Linked DNA regions of Homo sapiens: regions 1 and 3 are each linked to region 2. The links are contacts of gene promoters, found by promoter capture Hi-C in blood cells and fetal thymus (Javierre and others, 2016). All regions are on one chromosome and are shown on one strand. Each heading gives the region's core, a stretch centred on a gene start or on the middle of the fragment in contact. The rest is flanking DNA. Distances are from core to core; before and after follow the strand shown.

The links. The method cuts DNA at HindIII sites, captures the fragments that hold promoters and counts their contacts. A CHiCAGO score of 5 or more calls a contact.
Region 1: a contact is called between a fragment that was not itself captured here and the fragment with the promoter of PSMC4 in region 2, in 2 of 17 cell types (naive CD4 T cells and total CD4 T cells). The highest score is 6.9, in naive CD4 T cells.
Region 3: a contact is called between the fragment with the promoter of SERTAD1 here and the fragment with the promoter of PSMC4 in region 2, in 1 of 17 cell types (naive B cells). The highest score is 5.1, in naive B cells.

Annotation. Positions count from the first base shown.
Region 1 is chr19:39,541,319-39,544,197 of GRCh38, reverse strand. No RefSeq gene overlaps it. Among named protein-coding and RNA genes, the nearest start is that of EID2, 2.6 kb to the right of the region's middle. The HindIII fragment of the contact is 4,487 bases long and covers 1-2,879 here.
Region 2 is chr19:39,969,388-39,972,419 of GRCh38, reverse strand. It overlaps PSMC4 (proteasome 26S subunit, ATPase 4), which reads right to left and starts at 1,255. Exons shown (of 11, transcript NM_006503.4): 1 at 1,182-1,255; 2 at 176-274; 3 at 1-51. The coding sequence starts at 1,217. It overlaps LOC124904720 (a long non-coding RNA gene), which reads left to right and starts at 1,449. Exons shown (of 3, transcript XR_007067260.1): 1 at 1,449-1,540; 2 at 1,984-2,066. RefSeq lists enhancers at 292-971, 996-1,385, 1,886-1,935. The HindIII fragment of the contact is 1,611 bases long and covers 329-1,939 here.
Region 3 is chr19:40,424,456-40,427,309 of GRCh38, reverse strand. SERTAD1 (SERTA domain containing 1) reads left to right here and starts at 1,318. Exons shown (of 2, transcript NM_013376.4): 1 at 1,318-1,443. RefSeq lists a silencer at 1,861-1,950 and an enhancer at 1,993-2,795. The HindIII fragment of the contact is 9,774 bases long and covers 1,033-2,854 here.

The DNA of each region.
Region 1 (2,879 bases), core at 131-2,630, 430 kb after region 2:
AGTGCCCAGCTCCTGGTACCAATTTCTGCAACCGTTAGCTAACAGTTATCTATTGCCACAATGATACTGCATAGCAAATCATATCAAACACTGTGGCATAAAACAAGAAGCACTTATTGAGCCTATGCATCTAAGAGTCAGTTGGTAGGTCAGCTGGGGACTGACTGATTTTTTTTTTTTTTTTGAGGCAGAGTCTTACTTTGTTGCCCAGGCCAGAGTGCAGTGGTGCAATCTTGGCTCACTGCCTTTGCCTCCTGGGTTCAAGCGATTCTCCTGCCTCAACCTCCTGGGACTACAGACACGCACCATCAAGCCCAACTTATTTTTGTATTTTTTAGGAGAGACAAGGTTTCACCATGTTGGCCGGGCTGGTCTCAAACTCCTGACCTCAGGTGATCTGCCCACCTCGGCCTCTCAAAGTGCTGGGTTTACAGGCGTGAGCCACTGAGCCCAGCCAGACTGACTGATTTTGAATGCCTTGTCTGAGACCACATTCCTCCACTCTGAATGGTCTTCCACCCTCCAGAAAGCTGGTCCAGACTTGTCCTCATGGTGGAGATGAGTTATAGAGTTAGAGAGAGAATGAGAAGTATGAAATTCCTCATGAGCACTAGTCTTGAAACTGATGAACCATCATTTCTACCACATCTTATGGGTCAAACAAGTCATAAACCAGTTCTCATTCAAAGGATGGAGAAAAAAAATCTACTTCTTTTTTCTAATTATTATTGAGACAGAGTCTTACTCTGTCATCCAAGCTGGAGTGCAGTGGCACAATCATGGCTCATTGTAGCCCTGAACTCCTGGGCTCAAATGATCCTCCTGCTTCAGCTTCCTGAGTAGCTAGCCACACACTACCATGTCTGGCTAATTTCTTCTTTTAGAGACAGGGTCTTGCTATGTTGCCCAGGCCTGGTCTGGAAATCCTGGCCTCGAGCAGTCCTCCTGTCTTGGCCTCCCATAGTGCTGAGATTACAGGCATGAGCCACCACGCCCAGCCAAGAATCTATGTCTTTTTTTTTTCTTTTTCTAGACAGAATCTCACTGTGTCACCCAGGCTGGAGTGCAGTGGCGGGATTCTCCAGGAGAATCACTTGAACCTGGAAGGTGGAGGTTGCAGTGAACCAAGATATCGCGCCACTGTACTCCAGCCTGGATGACAGAGCCAGACTCTCTCAAAATATATATATTAATTGGATTCAAATTCTCTCTCTCTCTCTCTCTCTCACACACACACACACACACACACACACACACACACACCTCTGCTGTAAAGATTTTAAGCAATATGGAGCCCCTGATCCCAGCTGCCTTAATGGTTTAGTCTACAACATGGTTACAATCATCCTCAAGTCATCCCGAAATAGTGGCAGTGAATTACAAAGATGCTGCAGCCACCGCAGGCACAGTCTTGGGAGCAACAGCAAACCTGGACTACCTCTCAAATTTTTGTTTGTATCCCCTCACATTATCACCAAGTTTTTCTGCCTTCCTCTATTTGTAGCTTCTTATTTTAGTTCACTTCATTTTCCTAGAACCATTTTTATATCACTTCCGGATCTAATAAACCATCATTTTACTTAGAGCAATTTCTATTCTTAGAAAATCAGAGGGCCTTTCAGCTTCTGCTGTAAGGTGACTCTTAGTCCAGAGAACAAGATTATATCCGCTTCTGTAGGATTACAGCAAATTACTATGATTTCTACTTCTTCCTGTGATAATATATGTTGTCACCTAAGTCTGGAACTTCCTTTGTTAAATATTTGTGACTCTCCAGGCAGCCTGAGGGTGAGAACAATAGATCTGTCTCCAGCCTAGCCTGGGAGCTGCCTTAAAGGAGCCGCACACTTAGTGATTGCAGAGATGCTGGTGGGAAGCAGCAAGTAGACTAGCTGTTGTGTTTTATTAATTTGGTGCTTGGACCAGGAAAATTAAAATGCAGTCTTGTGCTCTGTGGATGAGACCTTACTGCCTCAGAATAGCTACTTCTGATAGGGCAGAGAACGATAAGTCACTTAAGTCATTTGTTGATGGTCATGAATCATGGCATCATGACGGGGACCACCACCAGCAAAATCAAATCAAATTATTTTGTTTGTTCACATTAATCAGAACAAAGGGAAATTAATTGGAGAGTCAGTATATAAGATGCATGTTTTAATATTACAAGATCCATAAAAGAATGGTAATAAGCCGGGCACAGTGGTTCACGCCTGTAATATCAGCACTTTGGGAGGCCAAAGCCTGGCGGATCATGAGGTCAGGAGTTCGAGACCAGCCTGGCCAATATAATAAAACCCTGTCTCTACTAAAAATACAAAAATTAGCCGGGCATGGTGGCGCGCACCTGTAATCCCAGCTACTCAGGAGGCTGAGGCAGGAGAATCACTGGAACTGGGAGGCAGAGGTTGCAGTGACCCAAGATCACACCACTGTACTTCAGCTTGGGCAACAGAGCGAGACTTCATAAAAAAAATGGTAATGAATATAATAACTATCAAGAAAATAAAGTATTTATAAACCATAATGAAAATGTAGGCTGGAGGCCGAGTGCTCTGGCTCACCCTATAATCCCAGCACTTTGGGAGGCTGAGACAGGCGGGTCGTTTGAGCCCAGGACTTTGAGACCAGCCTGGGCAACATAAGGAGACCCTGTCTCTACAAAAAAATTAAAAATTAACTGGGTGTGGTGGTGTACACCTGTAGTCCCAGGTACTCAGGAGACTGAAGTGGGAGGATTATTTGAGCTCGGAAGGTTGAGGCCACGTTGAGCTGTGATTGTGCCACTGCACTCCAGTCTGGGTAACAGAATGAGATGAAAGAAAGAAGGAATGAAGGAAGGAAGGAAGGAAGGGAGTGAGGGAGGGAGGGAGGAAGAG
Region 2 (3,032 bases), core at 6-2,505:
TTTGATGTATTCCTCCTGCACCTCCAGGAACTCCAGCTCTTGCTGCAGCTTCTGCGAGCAGAGAGGGGACAGAAGGGGATGGCTCCAGACTTGCTGATCCAGAGAGTGGTGGAAAGTGGGGAAGAGTATGAGATGTCAGGTCCTGTGCAAGGTCTGGGTTGGGGGTCGAATGTACCTTGTAGCGGCTGTACAGGTCCTCCAGGTCCTCAGGCTCAGGGCCCAGGAAGGACAGGCCGGTCTGGGGCCGGGACACGGACAGTGCTGGGATCTCATCCTAGACGAAAGGGGATAACTCACATTGGAAGAAGACAGTCCTCTCATGAAAGCTTCCCAACTTCACTAATGTTTGTTCCCCTCCCCACTTCACCCTGATGTCACTTAGCCCCTAACAGACCCCTGATATCTTAAGACCCTCTAAATAGATCCTGGAAACCTTTTGGCCACCTAAACAAGCTCTTTATGTCAACTTGCCCCTCAAACAGATCTTATGTTATCATATACCACTCATAACATGTCCCCAGTGTCACACAACCCCCAACTAGGATCTAAACGTCACATCAACTCCTTATCAGACCCAAATGCCACCCAATCCCCTTCAAGAGGTTCCTAATGTCACATGGCTCTCCTAGATAGGCTGTTAAAGTGACTGCGCCTTCAACGAGTCCCAACATTCCCCAGTTTCCCCTCAAAGATCCCTTATGTCACAGTCTCCTAACTCACCTTAGACCTAAATATCACTCAGGCAAGCCACAGATAATACTTAACTACCCGCCCCATTACCCCCATCAGCAAAGCCCTGAACATCAGTCAGCCCCGCAGCCCAGACCCGGGGATCACTCGGCCGCACGGCGGGATCCCATATATCACTCACCGCCTGACCCAATCCCAACGCCGGGCCACCGACCTCACTAAGCACTACCGGCCAGGGTTCGAAATCAATCCGTCTCAAAGACCCACTAACGTCACTCACTCCCCCAGCCCCGCTTTCTGAGCCTTACCTCCTACCATCACTCGGCCACCCAGACAGGCCTTCGAATGGCACAAAGCTCTCCACCGAGGCCTCTAAAATAACCCCAACCTGGGCCGGGGTCCTGGAAGCCATTCCTCCCCCCACTCAGGTCTGGCTTCACCCTCTCCCCGCGAGCCCGGCCCGGACTAAAAAGCCCAAGTCCCCACTGTACCTGAGCCTTCTCCACCAAGATGCCTATCTCCTCCATAGTGACCAAGCCGGCCTCTGTGTGGCCTGGGATGATCTGTCACCGCTTCCGCTGACGACAACGGAAGTCCCTGGCTGAGGAGGCTTCTGGGAAGTGTAGTTTAAGTTACGGCTGAGAGGTGCTGGAAGGGCAGGATAGGACGAAGGGCTGGTCTGGGCTCCGCCCTCAACATAAGCTCATGCGCTGTCCGTACCCGCAGGCGCGAGGGCGGGACGGGAGCTGTGGGCGTGCGCAGTATCACGCGGTGGCGCCATCTCGCCCTGCCGTGGAGGGCTGGGGGTTCTCTCCGGGAGGTGGCGCAGCCCCGTTGCTCTTTCAACGGAGTAAGTTCGCAGAGCTCTGGCACGGACAGTCTGGCGGCCAACTGCTCTTCGCTTTCTAGTGTCTGGGCTGGAGGGTCCTTGAGCTGGGTTCCACAGAAGGGATTGATCGTACGGGCGGGTAAGGTCTCCACGTGGCGCTGATCCAAAGATTGTGCGCCGCGCGGGCGTGGGAAGATCCGAGCTGCCCCTGAAGGTGACATTTCATACTGGGCTTTACCCCGGGATTGAGGAGCCCCGAGCCCGCAGTGAGCAACCAATCGAGTAGAACCCACGCGTCTGGGCTGGGGAAAAGGAGGCAGCGAGTGCCCAGAAGTTGGGTAGCACAGGAGATCCATAGACCTTAGTTCTGTATCCCAGGTTTCCGCCTTACAGATCTATGCCAGGTCCTGCGCTTAAGCTTTACAGGCATCATCGTCGCAAGTATTATGTTTCCTCATTTATAGAGAAGGAGACAAGCTCAGAGCCACGAAGCCACCAGCCACAGTCAACAATGTGCCGAAGGGACAAAGCATAGATTGGGACCCAGGTCTGTCTGTCCCCAAAGCCTGTACTCTTGGCCCCAGGGAAACACTGCTACCCTTCACACCAGCTACAATTTTTGTTAAGTAAACCTTTTATTGAAGTTAAATAAAGAGAAGAGCACAAATCATTACAGCTCGACAAAATTACACAAAGTGAACATGCCCATACAACCTGAATCCAGATCGCAAAACCAAACAGTAGAAGCCTCATGTGCTCCCCTTTCCCCCATCCCTTCTTCTCCCCCCTCCACTCCCCGCCCCGAGACGGAGTCTCACTCTGTTGCCCAGGCTAATATTTGTATTTTTAGTAGAGACAGGGTTTCACCATGTTGGCCAGGCCGGTCACAAACTCCTGACCTCAAGTGATCTGCCTGCCTTGGCCTCCCAAAGTGCTGGGATTATAGGCGTGAGCCACCACATCCGGCCTCCCGATCCCTTCTAAAGGTTATCATTCATCTGTTTTTTTCTTTTTTTTTTAAGAGCTAGAGTCTCTGTCGCCCAGGCTGGAGTGCAGTGGCACGATCATAGCTCACTAGAGTCTCCAACTGCTGGCCTCAAGCTATCCTCTCTCCTCAGCCTCTGAAAGCACTGGGATTACAGGCATGACCCACCCCATGTAGCCTTTAAAAATATATCTTTTGAAAGAGATTCTTGCTCTGTTGCCCAGGCTGGAGTGCAGTGGTGAGATCACTACTCACTCCAGGTTCAACCTCCCAGACTCAAGCAATCCTATACCTCAGCTTCCCAAGCACCTGGAACTACAGGCGTGTGCCACCACGCCTTGCTAATTTTAAAATGTTTTTTGTAGAGATAGGGTTTCGCTGTGTTGCCCAGGCTGGTCACGAACTCCTGGACTCAGATGATCCTCCCACTTCAGCCTTCCAAAGTGCTGGGATTACAGACATGAGCCACTGTGCCTGGCTGGACTCGCCCTGACTTGTAACAGCTGGGTTACTTTTGTTTGTTTTGAA
Region 3 (2,854 bases), core at 69-2,568, 450 kb before region 2:
CTAAGAGCTTGTCTTATTACAACAGCTATTACTACTAACAAAGAAACAACGTTGCTAACCAGGCATGGTGGTGTGCGCCTGTAGTCCCAGCTGCTTGGGGGTCTGAGGCAGGAGGATGGCTTGAACCTGGGAGGCTGCAGTGAGCCGAGATGGCACCCCTGCACTTCAGCCTGGGTGACAGAGCGAGACCCTGTCTCAAAAGCAAAATAAAATAAAATAAAAAGTAAAGAAAAAAATAATAAGCAGCTGGGCGCGGTAGCTCACGCCTGTAATCCCAACACTCAGGGGCCGAGGAGGGCGGATCACCTGAGGTGAGGAGTTTGAGACCTGCCTGGCTAACATGGTGAAACCCCATCTCTACTAAAAATACAAAAATTAACCGGGCGTGGTGGCGCACGCCTGTAGTCCCAGCTACTCGGGAGGCTGAGGCAGGATAATTGCTTGAACCTGGGAGGCGGAGGTTACAGTGAACCGAGATCGTGCCCCTGCACTCCAGCCTGGGCGACGGAGTGAGAATCTGTCTCAAATAAATAAATAAATAAATAAATAAAATGAAAAAAAAAAAAAAAACACAAAACATGTTGCACCCCACTCTGAAGATTTTTCATGAATTAATTTAATCCTTAAAAACAATCCTGTAAACTAGGCGCTATTTTCTCTCATTTTAAAGGAGAAACAGACCAGAAGGGATTAAAACACTTGCCGCAGGTCACACAGCTGCTTAGGGAATGGAGCCCGGGATGTGATTCCGTTGGTATCGCACTCCCACCTCACTCCCGCCTTTAACCACAATTAAGTCCAACTGTCCAGCATTGCTTGAGTGTGGTATTGTGTTCTTATAGATACGATCCTACTTAAAGTATCCTGTCAAGAGGTAGGCAAGACGATCCCCATTTAACTTTGTGTAGCTTGAAGAGGTTGATCATTTTTCCAAGGTCACGCATCCAGTGAGTGGGGAATCCGGAGTCGGAATTTGAACCCGGGCATTATCTGTAGTGTAGACCCCTGTCGGGGCTGGATGTGTAAGAAGCTTAATTGCCGGGTTTGGCAGGTGCATGGGTAGTTGTGAGGGGCTCGTATTTTGAGAGGCAAAAGCCCCCACTCGCCACCGTTCCCCGGAGTAAAAAGCCACCTCTTTCCACCCCTCACTCGCGCAGCTGCCCGGGCATGCGCCCTGAAGCCCCTCCTTCAGAATCCGCCCCCTACAAGCTCCGCCCATCACCATGCAGGGCCAATCCCTGGGGCGGAGGGCGGGGCAGCCACGAGAGTGGGCGGTCGCTAAGGGTAGTTAGGAGTCTGGAGTCGTGAGCCGGAGTCAGAACTGCGTCTCGCGACCCAGGCGCGGGTTTCCGGAGGACAGCCAACAAGCGATGCTGCCGCCGCCGTTTCCTGATTGGTTGTGGGTGGCTACCTCTTCGTTCTGATTGGCCGCTAGTGAGCAAGGTATGTAAATGAAGGGGCCTGGGAACAGAAGGGCTACCAGCGGCCGGGTCCTTCACAGAGTTCGATCCCTGGGTCCGACAGGTGCCCGCCGGGGCTGCCCGGGATCGAGACGCACGGACCTCTACGTGCTGTCTGCCCCGGCCGGGCCGGGTGAATCACGCCGCAGTCCGAGAAGGGGGCGGAGGCGCCGGCTTCTTGGCTCCGGCTGCGTGACTCACCCGCCCCCGCCGCCGCCGCTTCGGGAGGAGCCGCCTCCACTGCCGGAAGCGAGCGGAGGCCGGGCGCAGAGAACAGCCCGCCAGGGGTCCCGGCTCGCACGGCGCCGGGAGGCCGGCAGGAATCACAGCCGGGAATCGGGGCAGTAGAAGGGGTCCTGGGGTCAGAGGGGCCAGAATCCCCGGGGGAAAGCCGGCCTGGGCACCGCTAGGGGGCGCCGGGACCCGGGGGCGGAGTCGGGGGTGGGGGCGGAATTCCTGCGGTTCCGGACTCCCCGGACTGCGGGGAAGGGGACGAAGACCCTGTTTTGAGTAGTGTGGTGGGCCATTCTTAAAATCTTGCTAGGCAGGGTTCCGAAACTGGACTCTACAGTCTTCCTGGCCCAAAAAAGTAGGTAGCGCCAGGAGTCCAAAACTCCAGCCCTACCCCCGCCACTCCAAGAACAGTGGACCCTCAAACTTATCTCAGTGACTGAACCCGGTGCCGATCACGATTTCCCGACAAGCCCTGTCTATTCTGCCTCCCAAATAAGTCCTGACTCGACCGACTTCCTTCCATGCCACTACCAGCTCCTACTCCAGGCCATCACCATCGTCCGTCCCAAACGAGTACAGCCTACCAGTGGGTCTCAGATCCCCCCTCTTTTTGCCCCCCACAGTCTTCCTCGAAGCAGCCATGGGGGGGATCTTCCGGAAACCTAATCAGCTCACAGCACCATTCCCTCCCTGCTCAAATTCCTTTAATGACTGCCCACCACACTCAGGATAAAATCCAAACTCCCTACTTCTGCATATGTGGCTTTCTGTGACCTGGCTTGTGCCCGTTCCCCTAGCTGCTCCCCAATCTGGTCTCCTACCATGTCACTCTCTGTGTGCCACCCATGCTGGTCTCTTTCCAGTTCAAGCCCATCCAGCCTCTGGGCTTTTCTCTGCCTTTTTTTGTTGTTCCCTCCTCCCGGAATGCTTTTCCCAGGGTCTCCCATGGCTGACTTCTCTGGCCTGAGGGCTCCATTCAAATGTCACCTCCTTACAGGAGCCTTCTCTGATGATCTAAAAGGTCTCTAGGAACTTTTAGTGTCTTCCTGTAATTCTCTGTACATTTCCTGTGTTTCCTTATTTATTTACTGTTTGAAACATAGTCATAGTAGACAATAAATATTAAACTACGTGAAACTAGTTTAGTATTTATAATATTA